Linked DNA regions of Homo sapiens: region 1 is linked to region 2. Evidence: promoter capture Hi-C in 16 types of primary human blood cells and fetal thymus (Javierre and others, 2016). All regions are on one chromosome and are shown on one strand. Each heading gives the region's core, a stretch centred on a gene start or on the middle of the fragment in contact. The rest is flanking DNA. Distances are from core to core; before and after follow the strand shown. Region 1 holds the start of SCGB1C1 (secretoglobin family 1C member 1). Region 2 holds the start of IFITM5 (interferon induced transmembrane protein 5).

Region 1 (3,039 bases), core at 399-2,898, 110 kb before region 2:
CCTTGTTAAGAGAACAAAAAGACAAGCCACATATTGAAGAAAATATTTGCAAAATACACATCTGAGAAAGAATTTGTCTTCAAAATATATAAAAAATTATTAAAACTAAACAATAAGTTAAACAGCCCAACTAAAAATGCACACACATCTGAACAGACACCTCACCAAAGAAGATCTACAGATGGCAAGTAAACACATTGAAACCACAATGTGGTTACAATTGAAAACCACAATGAGATAGCACAGCTGGTCTATATCTGTTAGAATTGCTAAACTCTTTTAAAAATGACAAATTGCTGAAGGAAAAACAAGAACTCTTTTCATTGCCAGTGGAACACAGCGTATAAGACCAAAATACGCCACCCCAAAACCTAACCCTAACCCTAACCCCTAACCCCTAACCCTAACCCTAACCCTAACCCTAACCCCTAACCCCTAACCCTAACCCTAACCCTAACCCCTACCCCTAACCCCTAACCCTTACCGGTGACCCTACTGTATCCCTGACTCCTAACCAACGTTGATCCCTAACCCTAAACCCCTTACTGTAACTATAATCTTCATCCCACCCTATCCCTAGCCTTAGTGCCATCCCCCAGGCTTTTTCCAGGATGGGATTTTATGTGATTGTTTCGAATAGGTGGAAATCTCTGCTCATTTAGGAGTCGTTCAATGTAACAAGGATCTTGGTCTTCACAGAGACCCTAAACGCGTGTGGCCCAGGGCCATGTGGATGCCATCAGCCACTAGGTGGCAGCAGGGGCCCTTTGGATTTGAACAATGCAGCTCAGTCAGAGGGCTGGACTGGGACACCCCTACTCATGGTCTCTCTTGGCATGGTTTTGTTTGGTGACTCCAGGTGTCCCAACCTCCTGTGTCCATTGTAATATGTCCTGGGACCATCTCCCCCAGGGCCTTCAACCTGGGGGGTTGAACCCCAGGATAGCAACCCCAAGCCCTCCTTGCTATCCTGGCTACTGATGGAAGATGTACCTCAAGCCTGTCCCATTCCTCACTTCCTGCTGAGACCTGGCCCCAACATGGCCAGCTCTATGTTCCTCAGACCCTCTCAGGCCACCTTCTCTCTTCTAGGCACTGTCACTGGGCTTCTCCCCACCCCATAGATCCACAGCCCCCAGGTAGTCCTACAGCTGTGTCCACTCGTGCAGCCTGCACCCCCTTCCCCTACTCGGCCACCCCATCTGAGTAGTAAGGGGCCCCTGCCTGATTGGAGACCCCCAGATGCAGACCCAGATCACACAGCACACTGATAAGAGGAGGGATTCGCACCTTAAAAGAAAGGCGTGGGACCAACCCCAGATCCCACCACTCTCGGCCTCAAGGGCAGGCATGACTAGAGGCCCTTGGTGGCCAGGACCCACTGCCTTCTTCACCGATCAGTTGGCATGGCCTCTCACCAGTGTTCCCTCCTAACACACCTGTTCTCTCTCTCACACACCCTAAAGCCGCTTGCCAACCACCTGTCACACAGCCACTCCATGCCTGTTGCTGCTTGGCACCCACTGGGGGCCAGGGATGTGAACAAACCTCATCTAAGCTGGCTGCCGGGTCCTAATGGGCAGGTCCGGTCCGCCCTCTAGGAGAGGTGCTGTCCGGTGAGGCATAAAATCCCGGGATTCTGGCTGGAGGCAGCTCCTGAGACTGCTGGCATGAAGGGGAGCCGTGCCCTCCTGCTGGTGGCCCTCACCCTGTTCTGCATCTGCCGTGAGTCTGTGCCACTGGGGTTTCCAGAACATTCAGGGGTGGGGGGGAGTGGGGGGTACCTGAGAAGGTAAAATCCTGGCATCGGGCCTCTGCAGTGAACACTCCACCTGCTTCTGTCACAGAAGTGGGCAAGGACCCTGCAGAACCCGCGCCCACCCTACTCCACCCCAACCAAGGACAAAGCCCAGCTGACCCAACACCAGCCCAGTGTCTCCTACCCCAGCCCAGTCCAGCCTGACCTGACCCTTCAAGCCTCTGGTCATAATAGCCTCTCATCAGGGGAAATTTCCCCCACACCAGGAGCTTAACTTTCCTTCCCTGGTGATCCCAGGGAATGCTGAGTGGAAATTGGAGCAGCTAAGATTAAGGGGGATGTGGAGGGGTCTTCGGGCAAGGTGGAGTTGGAGGTGTTGTGGAGGAAGCCCTGGGGAGGAGAGGTGGGCATTGAAGGGGAAGGTCTGGAGACCATGGAGGTTGGAGCCCTGGGGCAGGTCCAGGGCTGTGGTTGCACCAGAGTCACCCTGTCCTGTCCTGGCATCATCTCGCTCGTGATGCAGGGATGGCCACAGGGGAGGACAACGATGAGTTTTTCATGGACTTCCTGCAAACACTACTGGTGGGGACCCCAGAGGAGCTCTATGAGGGGACCTTGGGCAAGTACAATGTCAACGAAGATGCCAAGGCAGCAATGACTGAACTCAAGTCCTGTATAGATGGCCTGCAGCCAATGCACAAGGCGGAGCTGGTCAAGCTGCTGGTATGAGGGCGGCGGGCACCCCATTTTCTAAAGATCTGCAGCCTTACCAAGACCACCCAACACAGCACCCACACAGCCTACCCCACCCACAGACATCCACCACCCACAGACATTGCACCCGCATCAGCCAGCTCAGGTGGACACCCCAGACCTCCTGTCCACCGAGCAGCCCCCAGACTCCATAGACCTCCTCCCCAGTCTGTGGGATACTCCTCCATGCACACATGTGAACATACACAGAGATCCAAACACAGGTGCAGACATGAAATGTACACTGCGTGCACACATGTATAAACACGTTCACACCCACATGCTCACACTGGGATATGCACACACATACATGTGTGCACACCATCACATGTGCACACACACCTCCCAGCTGCTGGGAGGAGATAGGCAGCAATATGCCAGACCCCCCCCCACTGAGGGCCTTGCTTGCCTGATGGAGCTGTGGCTCTCCACTTATTGAGCACAGCCCTCTTAGTCCACATGTGTCTGCCTTCCAGGTGCAAGTGCTGGGCAGTCAGGACGGTGCCTAAGTGGACCTCAGACATGGC
Region 2 (2,952 bases), core at 394-2,893:
CAGAGAGATGGGGTGGACACACGTGGGGTTGGGACGCACCCATGATGTTCTGGAGCACAGGCCGCTAAACCACAGAGCAGCAGAGATCAAAGGCCTGGGCTCTCAAACTTAGTCTAAAATACTCTGGGCCTCCGCCCCGTAAGCCACAGGCCGCCCAGTGGCTGAGAGAAGGGGACAGTTGGGGCCAAGCAGGGCTGCTGAGCTGCGGGGGGCGCTCCCGCCACTGACTCTGGGGGCTGGCCCTGTGGCATTTGGCTTTGGTGGTCCCTAGGGCAGCTCCTTCCCCCACGCTAGGCAGGAAAGAGGCCAGGAGGCACTTTCTGGAACCAGGCACTTTTAATCGTGGAACCGAGGGGCCTGGAGTGTGAGGAGGGAGGGGCAGGATCGGGGGCAGAGTTAGGGCCCGGGAACTCTCGGGTTAGGGTGAAGACCCCGGGGTCTGACTGGTTCAGCCTTAGGTGCCCATGTTGGGGCTGGAGGGCCCCAGGATCAGGATGGGGCAGGGATGGAGGCCCCACAGAAGGAGGGCCAGGCTCCGGGGAGTCAGTATTGGGCCCCAGGGGCAGCAGCCTGGGGTCAGTGTCCTGGGGCTAGTGCCCCAGATCAGGACCCAGCCTGTCAGTCATAGTCCGCGTCATCAAACTTGGTGCTGAAGAAGGCGGCAGAGTCCTTGGCCAGCCGGGCCAGGTGCAGGGCACCAGTCACCACCAGCCCCAGGAGCAGCAGTGGCGGCACCAGCGTCCACATCGCGGCCAGGATGTTGTAGCACTTGGCTTTGGAGCCAAAACGCCGGGCCGCTTCCAGGTCACCAACCACCTTCTGATCTCGGGCCTGCAGAGAGACCAGACCACAGGGCCAGATCTCTATGTGTCCTCGGGGCCTGGGGGCCCTTCCCCACCCACACCCTGGGCACCTGGAAGGCCCCTACTGCACCCAAAATCTGGATGGAGGGGTGTGGCCTGAGGAGATACTCCTTGGGGCCCCAGCTATGGACCCGGGGGCCATCCCAGGCCAGTGTCAGCCTATCAGAGCTCTCTATGGGTGAGGGTCCCCCAGGGTGCTGAGACACCCCCCACCCTGCCAGCCAGGAGCTGAAGTCAAAGGGACCTCTGTTCCAGAAGCCCACAGCATGTGAACCCCCTCTTGATTGCAGAGACCTCTGTGGGTGCCTCCCAATGGCCTCTGTGCTCTTGGATGGGCCAGACCCCGTTAAGAAGAGGCCCCCCGGCCTTGCCTTCGTGAGGAGCTCTTTCCCGGCCATACTGATAGCTGTGCCCACAGAGCCCCTCACGGACAAGCAGAGCCCCCCGCGGCCCCCAGCACGGCAAGGACCCCCCACGGAGCTCCCCATCCCTCCCCCTTCCCCCCACCTTGATGGAGTAGTGGAGCCTCCCCCGCAACCTCGGTAGGGCCCCTGCCCACCTTGATGGAGTAGGCCAGCGCCAGGAAGCCGAGGCAACACAGATTCAGGTAGAGGGTGCTGAACACCGACCAGATCAAGTGGTCTCGAGGCGGGGGGTGCGGGGCCCCCAGTGTGAGGGCTGTGTGGGCACCGGCCTTGCTGGGCGTGGGGGCCCGGGTGTCCTCGCGGGGATACGCCGTGTCCATGGGTTCCAGCGCCGTCTCTTCCACACTCAGACTGGTGCTGGGAGGGTGGGCACCCGCTCACTTATAGCCCTGTCGCCCTCCCGGCCCAGCCCCTCAACGCTATATATAACACAAATTACAGCCTGCGGGCCGAGGGTGCGGCCCGCCCCTTAGCCCCCACCCCAGGGAGCCCCTGTCCGAGGCTGCCTTGGACCACCCAGCAGGGTCCCTCCTGACAGACATCCCATCTGGGAGCCCCCCGCTTGGAAGGCTACGGCCGGGCAGTGGCAGAGACCCCCACCCATCCCCCCACCCCCATCAAAGGCTGCTGGCCAAGTGGGCAGTGGGCAGACCACTGGCCAGAGCCCCCTCCGTCCAGGCCAAGAAGAGTTGGAGGTGTCGCCTCAGGGCCATGGGCCTCATAATTCAGGGATGTACAGGAGCCCCCTCCTCAGAACCAGAGCTGCTGAAACTGCAGCCCCTTCATTCCCAGAACTCAACTCTGCCCCTAACACTCTCAGAGCACCAGCGCCAGGCCCTAGGAGCGCAGGCATCCCTGCAAGGGGGACAGGGAGGGCGGCTGTCGGAGGAGGGCGCGAGAGAGAAGGAGAGAACCACATGGGGGGAAAGCCAGGGGGTGCAGCCTGTTAGGAGCCGGCAGGGGAACCCCCAGGGACCAGCAACAGCTGTTAACACTGGTGTCGGGATGCAGGGAGCCTGTGGGCTCCTGTGGTGGACACTCCCCTCAGCCTCCTCGGCTGCCCTCCCTGATCCCAGAATGTCTGTGGTGAGTGGTCCTGTTTAGGGCTCAAGGTCCGCCCCAGTCTTGTCTCTGGCTGTAGATGCCTGTGTGTGCTGACGACTCACATTTATGTCTTCAGCCCAGACTTCCCCCCAAAGACATTGGCTTGGTCCCCAGCTCTGGACACACACACGCAACTCCTGCTCTGTGGACCTCCACCCACGTGCCAACAATAGACCCTGGATCCTCCCTCCCAACCTCCTCTGCCAAGCCTTCCCCGGAGCAGTGGTGGCAACTGCACCGGGCCAGAAGGCTCAGCTTCCCCGTCTCCCAGTCGGCCACACTCCTGAGTGCCCAGGACCAAGCTGCCCTCCCTCCTCCAGGACGCACACTCGCCACCTGCAGGGGATGGTTGGGTGGGGGGTTCCTTGCTGCTGTGCTTGAGCCTGTGAACCCCAAATATCTGAGACAGGTCTCGGTTAATTTAGATTATTTTGCCAAGATTGAGGATGTGCCTGTGACAGCCTCTGGAGCTCCTGAGGATCTGTACCCAAGGTGGTCGGAGCACAGTTTGGTTTTATACATTCTAGGGACACAGGAGACATCAGTCAACATATGTAAGA

The links. The method cuts DNA at HindIII sites, captures the fragments that hold promoters and counts their contacts. A CHiCAGO score of 5 or more calls a contact.
Region 1: the fragment with the promoter of SCGB1C1 here is called in contact with the fragment with the promoter of IFITM5 in region 2 in 14 of 17 cell types (endothelial precursors, total CD8 T cells, activated CD4 T cells and 11 more); the score reaches 11.2 in endothelial precursors.

Annotation. Positions count from the first base shown.
Region 1 is chr11:191,430-194,468 of GRCh38, forward strand. It overlaps SCGB1C1 (secretoglobin family 1C member 1), which reads left to right and starts at 1,649. Exons shown (of 3, transcript NM_145651.3): 1 at 1,649-1,725; 2 at 2,283-2,482; 3 at 2,989-3,039. The coding sequence starts at 1,671. The coding sequence ends at 3,021. The HindIII fragment of the contact is 15,974 bases long and covers 1-3,039 here.
Region 2 is chr11:297,883-300,834 of GRCh38, forward strand. IFITM5 (interferon induced transmembrane protein 5) reads right to left here and starts at 1,644. Exons shown (of 2, transcript NM_001025295.3): 1 at 1,423-1,644; 2 at 318-831. The coding sequence starts at 1,608. The coding sequence ends at 619. RefSeq lists an enhancer at 815-974. The HindIII fragment of the contact is 13,921 bases long and covers 1-2,952 here.